Linked DNA regions of Homo sapiens: region 2 is linked to region 1. Evidence: promoter capture Hi-C in human tissues and cell types (Jung and others, 2019). All regions are on one chromosome and are shown on one strand. Each heading gives the region's core, a stretch centred on a gene start or on the middle of the fragment in contact. The rest is flanking DNA. Distances are from core to core; before and after follow the strand shown. Region 1 holds the start of BID (BH3 interacting domain death agonist). Region 2 overlaps MICAL3 (microtubule associated monooxygenase, calponin and LIM domain containing 3).

Region 1 (6,299 bases), core at 1,208-3,707:
TGAGACCCTGAAGTCCAACTCCCTCGGGTGTGACCTTGGACAAGTTACTTAGCCTCTCCTTGCCTCAGTTACACCATCTGGAGAATGGGGATGCTACCCTCGTCTGACCACCGTGATGTGAGCCAGTCAGCACACATCAAGTGCTCCGTGAGCGTCCGGCACACAGGTGCTTGTCTCTGTCCTGTGCTTCAGCTCCATCAGTGTCTTCTTCAGACCTGTCATTGGCTTGGGGCAAGGATATATGTGGCCGCTGAGGGCGGTCCGCCAGGTATGGCAGCCATGGAGCTGCTAATTAGGCCCTGTGAGTGGGAGGCCCTGTGGGGTGGGCAGGGGCAGACGCCCAGCTGCTCTCGGGGACACTCCAGGCCTGTGCTGCCCTCCACAGCCCCAGCTGGAGAATGGTGACCAGATGTCAACGACAGGAAGCATTTCCAGAGGCCACAGCTCTGCAGGGAGGTCTCTCATGGGCTGACAGCCAGAGCCAGCGCTCCGGGTCCCCTGAAAAAACGGGCACAGTCCTCGGTCACGTCGAGGACCTGCTCAGCCCCTCCACTTGGCACCGGAGAGAGGATGACTCACGGCCCTTCTGCCTGGAAGGCAGGCTCCAGTGTCAAATGTCCATCCGCCTCCATCACCCTCATCCATCCTTGTCAGTCCAGGGGCCTGGGCACTGCTGGGGCTCCTGGGCAGACAGTTCCCCCTTGCAAATGAGTGGGACCCTCAGCTCCTTCGATCAGCATCCTCACGTCAGCCGAGCCTGTGAGCACCCCTAAGCAAGGCCTCTGAGCTGGGCATGCGACACCCCTTCCCACCCAGGCACCCTCCCCCTAGAATCCCCCATACCACCCTGGGGCCATGCCCCGCTTCCCTCTCTGGCAAGCTCCTGCACAACCTTGAGACCACCTGACAGCCACCGTCTATCCTGCCCAACCTCCTCAGAAGCACTAACAGCACCTCGCCCCAGCCACGGCAGGTCTCTGCACCCCTCGTCTCAGTCACCACTCTCACATCTCATGAACAGAGACACGAGCTGCTTCCTCATGCTCCCTGTGCCCGTCCTGGGAGATCCCTGCCTTTAAACCCCAGCCACGAACTGCTGACCCCGCATTTCCTCTTCCCTCCCTGGGCAAGAGGGGCAGAAGGGGCAGGGACGCACACCCTGGGCCGCAGGCAGAGGCTTGGCCAGGGTCGTCCTCCCGGCAGTGCCTCCCTGGAGCTCTGTCTACCTCAACTCCTGATGCCAGAGGATCCCTCTGCGCTCCCCACACCCTTAAGACCCCAGCTCAGGGAATCTGGTCTCGGTCATCACTCCCAGGGGACTGCAGGGCCCCAGGACGGCACACATTCAGGCCCAGGAGAGCTCCCCCCATCTCAAAGCCTCCTGTGGGTGGAGATGGAATGTGGAAAAACCGCATCCTCTGCAGCTCCCCCACAGTGAGAGCGAGGACTGAGGGTGTGGATAAGGCTCCAGGAAGGGGGTGCAAGCCTGAGAAGGTGGAAGAGCTCTGGGTGGGTCCATCTGCTCCTCACCTGCCCCAACCCTGCCTGCAGGTGAAGGCCGGTCCAGCCGCAGAAGGCCCAGCCCCCAGCCCACTTACAGAATCCGCACTGTGCTCCTCCAGCCGGCCCGGCCCCTCGCTGCCCACCGAGCCATCATGACCCCAGCACCGCTGCACATTCGTATTTGTTGAATGAATGAATGAACCCTTGCCAGCCCAGCCACTTGGTGGCTGAGGGCTTCAGAGCTCTCCCAGGGTCCCCTGGGGTCATTCAGCCACTCAACAGTTTCCCAGCAGCAGCAGCGAGGATCCGCACATCATTGCCAGTGCTCTAAGGAGCGGGCGAGCCCCAGTAAGCGGCCGCTCTGACCGCGCTTTGTCAGCCCTGAGCTCCGCTCGGGAGGAGCCGGCAGGTGTCTGCGGTGCTGGAAAGACCACGGTGTGGGCGGGGATTCCGATCCGCCGGCAAGGGTGGCCTGCACCCGGCCAGGCCCGCGGGTTTTCTCCTCTCCGGGGCTGGCCTCGGCCCCTCCCCCTCCCCGCGCCCCGCACCCCTCCCCTGAATCCCCAGGCCACGTGGAGAGGACACAACAAAGCCTTCCCCGCCTCCGAGGCGGACCCGACCCTCAGCACCGACCTGCCGGCCGCGCCGAGGAGGGCGCCCGGGCGGAGGGGAGGCGGGAGAGACCCGGCCCTCAGGTCGCTGCTGAGGCCTGGGGCTCTGACCCCCCGCCTCCCCTCCTCTGGCTCCCACCGCGGTCGGGCCCAGGGCGGGCGGCGGGCCCTGAGCTCCACGCCGGGGCAGGCGGCAGGCAGGGGTCACGGGCTGGGGCTCGGCGCGTACCCCGGGAGGGGCGCGGGTGCACTCACCACCCTCCAGCCGCGGGGGCGCGGGCGCGTCCGGGCCGAGGCAGCGTCTCCCAGGCGCGCGGACACGGTCGACTACCCGCTTCCTCCTTATGGCGCCCCGCGCGCTTCCTCCTTCGGCCCCCCACGCCCGGGCCCGCCCCGGCCCGCCCCGGCCCGCCCCCGGCGGCTTGCGGGGACCCGGGGAGCCCGCGCCGGCGCGGGGCTGTGGAGCGGGGCGGGGAGCCGGCAGCGCAGTGAGAACCAGGCTTTCCACCCTTACCCCTTACGCGACTGTTTCAGACAGTGTCGTCCAACTTTAAGTTGGCCACTTACTCCAGCGCCGCTGGGATAATTCCTAATGATTCTCTGGGAAACATTCAGAATCCCCAGGCTGTTTCTGGAACAGTCTGGGGTGGTCATTCTAGGTCCTCACGGAACCAGGGGTTTGGAAAGTGGGTGAAGCCATGTGGGTTGCAGAGAATCTGGCCCAGCCCCTCACCAGTCCCTGTGCTTGTTGTTTATTCTTTAATTATTTGGATATCAACTCTGATTTAAAACATCAGTTTAACATATAGATAATGCTGGGACTACAGGCGCACACCACACCCAACTAATTTCTTTTTCAGTTTTTAGTGGAGGTGGTGGGGGGGGGGTCTCCACCTCTGGAGGTCTCAGGCTGGTCTCGAACTCCTGGGCTCCAGCGATGCTTCCCACCTCGGCCTCCCAAGGTGCTGGAATGACAGGCCAGTCCATGCATCCCCGGATGCAGCTCTCACCGGCAGTGCTGCTGCAGAGCCCTTTGTGGGCGTCTTCACTTCTCTTGAGTGTGATACCTAGGAGTGGAAATGCGAATCATAGGGCTGGACGAGCTTCATGGTATTAAAAACTGCCTGCTTTCCAAGGTGATGCACACCGTTCGGCACTTCCACCAGCCCTGTTGGAGCGTCCAGTTGCTCTGCGCCCTCGCGTGGGCTCACTCCCTGAGCCCACTGTGGCTCCTCCAGACGCCCTCACTTCTACCCGGGCTCCCTAGACTCTTGCCTCTTTTATAAAAGGTCAGAGGATGTCACTCACGCTTTAACATCCTCTGAATAAAAGCCAAGTTCCTTTCAGTGGCCCGCAGAGTCCCACGCGACCTGCCCTGCTCTAAGCAAATCCTACCCTGTCCCTGTTCCTCCTCGGCAGCCCCATGGCCTCTGGCTTTCACCAGGCCTCACTTCATTTTCCTCCACAGCCAGCATCGCAGCATGACATACCACGGAGTCGTTTGTGTGTGTGTTGCCTACCTCCCCTCTCGGAATGTAGCCTCCACGAGGACAGGGGCTTGTTTCCTGCATGCTCTTCACTCGGGCTGGGCACTCTGGGGGGCTAACAAATGGAAGATCCTGTGAGCAGGGAAACCGTCAGATGGCATTAGGGGCCGGTGCCCTGCAGAAGACGAAAGGGAAACTTCATGGACTGAGGCCAGGTCATCTGCAGGGTGGTGTTCAAATTCATGGTACAATGTCAGCAGGCGCCCAGATGGGAAAAGAGAGGGACGTGCACCTGGGCACAAGAAGCTGCAGGGGCCCCTCCCAGGGCAGGCGAGAGCTTGGACAGTGGGGCACAGTGGGCAAGAGGCCAGTGGGGTGGCCTGAAGGCAGGAGGCTCCAGCAGCCTGGATGAGCAGTTGGATTTTATCCTCAGCACTGTGGGGGCCACTGGCCCTGTCATGCAGGGCAGGACCTGTACCAATTGGCCCCCACAGTCTCTGCCTCTCCTGTTGGCTTTTTGCAGGTCTCTCAAGTGCTTCTTACAGTCAGGGTAGAGCCTCCCCGCCTCAATCCTCCCTGTCCTGATCTGCTGCCTCTATGATGCTTTGGGCTTCAAAATCTGTCTGCAGTATTTGTAAAATGAGAGAGGGTGATGTTTCCTGCAAAACAACCACTTCAAAAAGAAAGGGGGGCGGGGTGCCAGAAAACAATTCAGGGGGTGACGGACTGGGGGGCTATGGAAGGGTCCAGGGAAATTCCGGGGATGATGGGATTCTTCTATACAGGGATTGTGGTGGATGCCACACAATTGTACACTTTTGTGAGAACTCTGCACGAAGAATGGTGAGTTTTACTGTATGTAAAATTATACCTTAATTAACAAATGAAACAATATACACATACATGAGAGAATGATGACTTTATTTTTTTTTTTGAAACAGGATCTAGCTCTGTCACCCATGCTGGAGTGCAGTGGTGTGATCACAGCTCACTGCAGCCTTGACCTCCCAGGCTCGAGTGATCCTCCTGCCTCAGCCTCCCAAGTATCTGGGACTGCAGGCATGCACCGCCACGCCTGGCTAATTTTTTAAAAATTTTTTTTAGACGGAGTCTGGCTGTGTCACCCATGCTGGAGTGCAATGGTGTGATTTCCGCTCACTGCAACTTCTGCCTCCCGGGTTCAAGTGATTCTCCAGCCTCAGCCTCCCAAGTAGCTGGGATTACAGGCACCCACCACCATGATTGGCTGGCTAATTTTTGTATTTTTAGTAGAGACGGGGTTTCACCATATTGGCCAGGCTGTTCTCGAACTCCTGACCTCAGGTGATCTGCCCGCCTCAGACTCCCAGAGTGCTGGGATTACAGGCGTGTGCCACCACACCTGGCCTTTTTTTTTTTTTTTTTTTTTTTTTTTTGGGACAGGGTCTTGCTATGTTCCCCAGGCTGGTCTTGAACTCCTGGGCTCAAGTAATCCTCCCACCTCGGCCTCCCAAAGTGCTGGGGTTACAGGCATGAACCACTGCACCCGACCTGAATGATGTTTTTGGCAATGAAAATGAAACACAAAATCCAGCAAGGTTTGACGGGGAAGGCGAGCTGGCGACCACATAGTCACAGTCGGCCTTTGCTTCCGCTTTATGCTGCAGTTTCTCACTGTCACTTCCTGCCACCGGGCTCGTCTTCCTGTGAAAATTCAGCCCCTCTTCCTCAGTTACCCCTTTGCAACAGAACGAGGCCGGCATTTTCTAAAGCGTCCTTGAGGAGTCCAGTTCCTAAAAGATTATTTCAGAGTCCACTGTTGTGGGCTGACTTGAATGCTCTCAAAATTCGTAAGTTGAAGCCCTGACCCCCAGGACCTCAGAACGTGACTGTGCTTGGACACAGGGACTTTCCAGAGGTGATTAAGGTGAAGTGAGGTCACTGGATGGCCCTCCTCCTATCTGACTGGTGTCCTGATGGGGACGCGGACACCCACACAGGAACGGACCCGGGGAGAACAACACATCGTCTCTGCGCCAGGGAGAGAGGCGTCCGGGGAACCCAGCCGTGCCCACGCATTTATCTCCGCCTTCCGGCTCAGAATTGTGAGGAAACCCGCTTCTGTTGTGCAAGTCCCGGGTCTGTGGTGCTCGGCCATGGCGCCCCCAGAACTGCATCCCCACCTTCTGCTCTGAGCCACCCATCCCCTCTGGAAGGGCTGAGCTTCTCTCCCTTTCCACCTTCTGTTCTGAGCCACCCGTCCCCTCCAGAAGGGCTGAGCTTCTCTCTCTTTCACTGCCTATGCTCTGGGAAACTTTCAGAATCCCCAGGCTGTTTCTGGAATAGTCTGGGATGGTCATTTTCGGTCCTCACAGAACCGGGGGTTTGGAAAGTAGGTGAAGCCATATGGGTTGCAGAGAATCTGGCCCAGCCCCTCACTAGTCCCTGTGCTTGTTAGTTATTCTTTAATTACTTGGATATCAACTCTGATTTAAAACATCAATTTAACATACAGATAATGCTGGGACTGCAGCTTCGCCAGGTGGCCTTCCTCTCCCGGTCTCGGGAGGCGTCACCCCCATCTTGTCCCCCCAAGATCAAGCGAAAAGGGCAAAGTTATCTTTTTTTTTTGCAAAATTCAAACCTTTCCCTCCTTCCCAGGTCTGGGTCACTTGCGACCCTCCTCTCAGGCTGCTTCTGACAGGCCCAAGTCACAGCC
Region 2 (6,218 bases), core at 98-2,597, 150 kb after region 1:
GTGCTCCCCTGGAGACCTGCCCTTTTTCCATGACCACGACCAGCCCTGGACCTGGCTCACACAGGCTCTGCCCAGCAGGCCCCACACCCAGCTCAGGACCTGTTCTTGCCATCAGAAGAGAGCCTGTCAGGAGCCAGGACCTGGAGGCAGCTTTGTTTCAATAGCCAAATAGCTTCAGTGTAACTGTTCCCTATAAAAAGAAACTGGTTTCTAAAGAACTGCGGTATCAGTGTCAGCAAATGCTATGCAACAGCCCCAGCCCACTACCCCAGAGACGAGTGAAGGACCCATAACACTTCTGATTCCAAGTTACCTGTATGGCTAACATCTGCATGAGAAAGCCACGAAGCTGCCACAAGCCCAGGTGTCAGACAAGGCAACATTTCTTCATTTGAGGCAGGAGGACACAGGACTCAAAGGGTTACTGCGCATTTCATACTTGCTGGGCGGTGACGGAGGAGGCAAGTGAGAGGGAAAGCTGCACGCGTGAAACGCCAGCCTTGGGAGTGGAATGGGGGTGGGACAAAAGCATATTTTCTGCAAGTCCCCGCAGTGAGGACTGATGTGGCTGTACCTGCCCCGTCATCTCCACCCATAGGTGGGGCCCCAATACTGCCTTCTACAATACCCCACTGGTTCCTCCAGCCTGACGCTGTGTCTTGGGGCCCCCAGCCCGTCCCCACCCTCCTAATGACCCTCTTCCGGTCATCTTTTCACTCCCTCTCCAATCTGGCCTCTGTCTCCAACACTCCACTGAGGGTGACGGTGGCTTTCAAGTGAGACAGGCTCAGACGCGTTCCGGTCTTATCTGGCTAGCTCCCTGGCTGCAGCGCTTCCTGGAACCCGCCCTCCCCTGGCTGTGCTCTGTCTCCTGCTTCTGCCCACTCTCCACACCGGCCTCCAGTCTCTCAGCTGCAATTCTTTCATCTGCCGCTCTCAAAAAATTGGATGGCCCTTGATTTTTATCATTCTGACCTTCCTCCAGAGATCCAAAGCTACTAAACATTTCCATTTAGCCATCCACAGGTGCCTCCCACCAAGGAAGTCTACCCCACACGGAGTCAAACCCACCACCCACCAAATGGAAATCTGGGGTCATCTCAGACCCTTCTCTGTTCTCCACTCCTCAACCCAATCTGCTGATTCTAACTTTAGAATGTTCATCTGCCTACCACAATCCTGGTGGAAGCCCCGAGATTCCCAGTGTGAAAGGAAAATAAATCTTGGGGCCCCAAACTCACTAAGCCAAAGGGAAAAGCCAAGCTGGGAAAGGGATCATGCAAACCCACCTTCCATTCTGGTTCCTAAATAAGATGACTACAAAGATGACTCCCTCGCATTTTGCCCACAAGGAAATTCCTTGTGGGCCCCAAGATCTTTACCCTAAAGCATTTCTGTTAAAATTCACCATGGCAATGTAAGTTGACAGCTTATCTTCACAGGTACGGGGACATAAGACAGAACTCAAAGTCATCTCTCTGCCCACCTGTGACAAAGGCATATCTGATTGTTTCCTCTGCTCTATTGTCTATGTTATCTCATGTAAAAAGGCAGATTCAGAGTCAAAGGCATGAATGACTATTTTTCCCTTCCCTCAACATGAAAACTGTGTATTTCACAATATCCCACTCTTTCTCCCTTAAATACTGAAGCTCTCAAAATCATCTTCGGAGAAAGGCATAGAACTGTCTCCCGGGTATGCAACCTTAACTTTGGCAAATGTATCTCTTAAAATGACTAAGACTTGAGACTGGCCTTGGTCATTTCCCTTGACTGACACTAGCTTGGACTAGCACAGCTGCCTCTTAATCTTTTCTTTTGTGTGTGTGATGGAGTCTTGCTCTGTTGCCCAGGCTGGAGTGCAGTGGTGCGATCTCAGCTCACTGCAACCTCCATCTTCAGGGTTCAAGTGATTCTCCTGCCTCAGCCTCCCTAGTAGCTGGGATTACAGGCATGTGCGACCACACCTGGATAATTTTCATATTTTTAGTAGAGACGGGATTTCACCATGTTGGCCAGGCTAGTCTCGAACTCTTGGCCTCAAGTGATCCACCCACCTCGGCTTCCCAAAGTGCTGGGATTACAGGTATGAGCCACCGCGCCCGGCTAGCTGTCCCTTAATCTAAACTCGCTCCAATACATCCTCCACGAGTGCCAGAGGGGTCTTTTGTAAGGGCCAATGTGACCCGTTTCAGCCTCTGCTGACACTAGGAAACAATCCAAACCCTCAGCAAGGCCCAAAAAGCTGACTTCTCTCACTACTATTAATAGATGCAACCCATCCTCTCAGGTTCCCAGCATGCACCACACTTTTACGTGTTCCTCACCTCTGCCGCCTCCTCACCTTTGCCTACAACGCCCCTCCTGCACTTGAGACTGCAGCTCAGCATTCCGGACCTCACTAAAGCGACCCCGCCCACCCCAGCCCCAAGCAGCCAATCACCTTTTCCCCTGTGTTCCCTCCCACCTGGGTGCGTGCCTCCCCTTCAACACTCCTCACTTGCTCTGGAATTAAGTCCAGGTCTGCCTACCCGTTTGTGTTTGGGTCTGGCTAGGTAGAGGAATTCACGTTCATGTTTGCACGTAGTACAGATGCGGGCAGATGCCAAGAAAGAAGGAAAAAGATAAACAGAAGTCTCGCCTGGGCCATAACATCTAATGTCACAGAACTACACAAAAGGAGAAAGGGCATTTGCATGATGATTAACTTGTTACTAACTTGTTGGACAATTTAGGGGGTGTAAGAAGGACCAGGAAGCAGCCACAGTTGAGTTCCCTAAGGCATATTAGGAGTCTGAATGGCTCCTAATTATGAAAACAACAGGACTGTTGTTTTCTGTTCACATTCCAGGATGATCCTCACCTTTTTCAGACACTAAGTCACTGGTATTATGATGTTGAAGCTCCCAAGAGTTAGAATGGCTGAAGGGAAGACTCATGCCCACAGGCTTCTTAGAGATGCAAATGGCTCGGGACGAAAGAAAACCAGGTTCAAGTGTATGCACCAGGGCACAGGCTTGGTGAGCACAGCCTTGTTCCAGGAGGGTCCTTATTCTCCAATAAGGTAGCTGTGCATGCTCAAACCCAAGCAGTGTGTCTTGGTTCCAAGCCACAGAAAGGAATGGGGAATGAGGGCTAGCTAGCTCCAAGGCCATGGTTTTCTTCAACTATTTTCATGGAGAAAATCTCAGTTGTTCTCTCCAAAGCAGAAATAAATCTAGACAACTGACCCTAAACCAGCTCAGTGGAATGTATTTTCCCTTGAAATTAGCTTAAAAGAGTATGGGACTTAGGCATGATTCATCAGTGGATCAAATGCTTCTCCAAGCCAAACCTCTCCCTCTGCTGATTCCCGCTGACCCCTGAGATCACTCCCCCAGCTACACCCCTCACCACACCACTTCCATGGGAAGGAGGATCCATTTGGTTGGAAATGAAACATTCAGAGAAAGTGAGTAACAAGCTTGCTTTCTTCTGCTCAAGGAATACTGCAAATTCCCCAAGCTACACTCAGGCAGGGTCTTGAAAGTCCACAGCCCACAACTTCTCCCCACTTATGCACCCCTTGCCCTAGGGGTGACCCTACCCTGTCCGGAGCATATTGAACTATAGCCAAAACTGTGGTTTCTTTTCTCCCAAAGACCAGTTGCCAAAAACCAACTGCCATGACCTCTCTGGGCTCCAAAATTCCAACTGCTCTGGGCTCCAAGCCAGCAACCTACCACATTTTTTTTCTACAGAAGACTTATTAATCTTTACTCAATTCAGCACCAATAAGATTAGCCAGTGTAGAGCCAGAGGGGCTACCAGCTCCATTCCACATCTACCCTGGACTAAGATGCCAGCACCTGATGGCCAAAAGGCCCAGGCCACCTTCTGGTACCTGCTGGGGCCCAGTGGCAGTCTCAGGTCCTGAGCTGGGCTTTGCCCACCCCTTGGTTTTCTAAAGCACTTGTCTAGTTTGCTACAGGCACAGGACTACTGTTCATTGGCCTGCTGGCTCTGGGATACACATTCTTTGGCTTGCTCCAAGGACTGAAACCTAAAATCTGGGCAAACCCCAGTGTTCCCTAAGGGATATTAGAAAGTGTTACTGCTGTGACCCTCTTGCCAACTGTGGCTTACACAAGTCTAACTCCAGGGAAGCCATCTGTGTTAGTCCATTCTCATGCTGCTAATAAAGACATATCTGAGACTGGGTAATTTATAAAGGAAAGAGGTTTAATTGACTCACAGTTCAGCACGGCTGGGGAGGACTCAAGGAACTTATGATCATAGTGGAAGGGGAAGCAAACACATCCTTCTTCACATGGCAGCAACAAGGAGAAGTGCAGCACGAAGAGGGAGAGAAGCCCCTTATAAAAGCATCAGATCTCAAGAGAACTCACTATCACAAGAAAAGCATGGAGGTAACCGCCTCCATGATTCAATTACCTCCCACCAGGTCCCTCCCACGACACGTGGGGAATATGGGAGCTACAATTCAGTATGAGATTTGGGTGGGTACACAGCCAAACCATATCACCATCCTTATGGGAAGGCCACCAAAGGACACCGTCAGTCCTCTCACAAATCCTGGAGAGCTCTGTGTCTGCAGTCAAGCTCCACAGACTCCAACTCACCAGGGCACAGCCAGCGGATCAGGCACATCTCACCCCTCGGACCAGTTCAGGTACAGATTAAATATACCGCCTTGAGAAATACCACTCACTGGGGCAAGGAAAAGCCAATGTACTCTGTTCAACTTAAATAAATATTTGATATAGATACAGGTTGGGCATCTCAAATCTGTAAATCCAAAACTGGAAATATTCCAAAATCTCAATGTTTTTGAGCATCAACAGGACACTCAAAGGAAACACTCAATGGAGCATTTCTGATGGCAGATTTTCCAATTAGGGATGCTCAACTGGTAGGTATAGTGCAAATATTCTAAAACCTGAAAAAAATATGAAATCCAAAACACATCTGATCCCAAGCATTTCAGAAGAGATATTCAACCTGTGCTAAACACCATGGACGTACTTTGTTAAAGGACCTTAATTAAGCAACCCTGTATTTCAGAAGACCTGCAACCAGAAGCCCCAGAGCATCTCAAGCCACAGTGTGAGAACAGCAGGTATTTCATAAACATTGCTGCAGGATGACATAGTAACATGCCCACAATAGCTCCAGTGCTCTGACCTTCCTTCCTCAGGGCAACTCAACCCACTGTTCACAGTAAGCTTCCATCCCTGCTGGCAACAGGTATTTCTTTATAACAACACAACAATGGCCTAACACACCCTGCAAACTGGGTGCCAACAGAACAATGAAATTGACCAAATAGCAACGGGGGGAAAGAGTCCTGGGATCCGAATAAGCCACAAACTGGATATTGGGCTCTGGATCCTGGAGAGCTACCCTCTGGCCAGAAACCAAAATGGGCTTGGCTCATTCCTGGTAAATATTCCAACCACACTAGGTGCCGAGCACCTGAGAGAGCAAGGGGAAGGGAGCCAGGTGAGAGCCACAAGCTGTACCAAGTTCCTGACATCAGGACCTCTGAAGGGCTCGGCCAGGAAACCAAAGGACTCAGAGCAGGGCTTCTGGCTCCCCAAAAACCACCACCAGGCCAGAAAAACATACTGTTCTCAGGACTGGAGGGCATGTTTTTCTATACCACTTGATTGCAGTATAACTTACAGACAATAAGAGTCACCCGTTTTCAGTGTACAATCAGTGATTTTTAGTAAATCTGCCAACTTGTGCAACCATCACCCTGGAGGGGATATTTAATATCTCCCAAACCTGAAGACGATTATGGTTCAGTCAGTTTTACGAGGAATGTGAAAAAAGAAGTTGATATCTACTTGTTGCTGCCAATTCAGCAACACGAAGGGAGCTCAGAGCAGGCAGAAAGCTGAGGAGGTCACAGCTATCTTGCCTCTGCCTGAAAAGCATTCATCTGGGCTTGGCTGGAGGACCTGGAAACTTAAACAATTTTTTTTTAAGTAACTCTTGTTGAGAATAGTGCTTCTCAAACTAAAATGAAGAACCCGTTCATCTGTCCATGTTTTCCCGGCACCCCTCCTTCCACAGTGTCGGAAGGGTACTACTGCACAAATCTCTCTTCACCATGACAGATCTTAGCACCACAGCCAAGGCATCAAACACGTTTCAGTTAAATCCTCAAACAGGCATTGTCCCTTCCTCCTGACAGCTGGGTGCTTTCAAAA

Evidence for each region. The method cuts DNA at HindIII sites, captures the fragments that hold promoters and counts their contacts. A contact is called where the count stands out against the background at its distance.
Region 2: a fragment that was not itself captured here is called in contact with the fragment with the promoter of BID in region 1 in 2 of the 25 tissues and cell types used here (heart right ventricle and lymphoblastoid cells).

Annotation. Positions count from the first base shown.
Region 1 is chr22:17,772,012-17,778,310 of GRCh38, forward strand. It overlaps BID (BH3 interacting domain death agonist), which reads right to left and starts at 2,458. Exons shown (of 6, transcript NM_001196.4): 1 at 2,370-2,458. It overlaps LINC00528 (long intergenic non-protein coding RNA 528), which reads left to right and starts at 5,279. Exons shown (of 1, transcript NR_103718.1): 1 at 5,279-6,299. RefSeq lists silencers at 1,967-2,296, 2,327-2,396, 2,417-2,466, 2,487-2,586 and an enhancer at 5,314-5,793. The HindIII fragment of the contact is 15,001 bases long and covers 1-6,299 here.
Region 2 is chr22:17,919,681-17,925,898 of GRCh38, forward strand. The region is part of intron 1 of MICAL3 (microtubule associated monooxygenase, calponin and LIM domain containing 3); the gene reads right to left. Among named protein-coding and RNA genes, the nearest start is that of MIR648, 58 kb to the right of the region's middle. The HindIII fragment of the contact is 5,993 bases long and covers 1-4,344 here.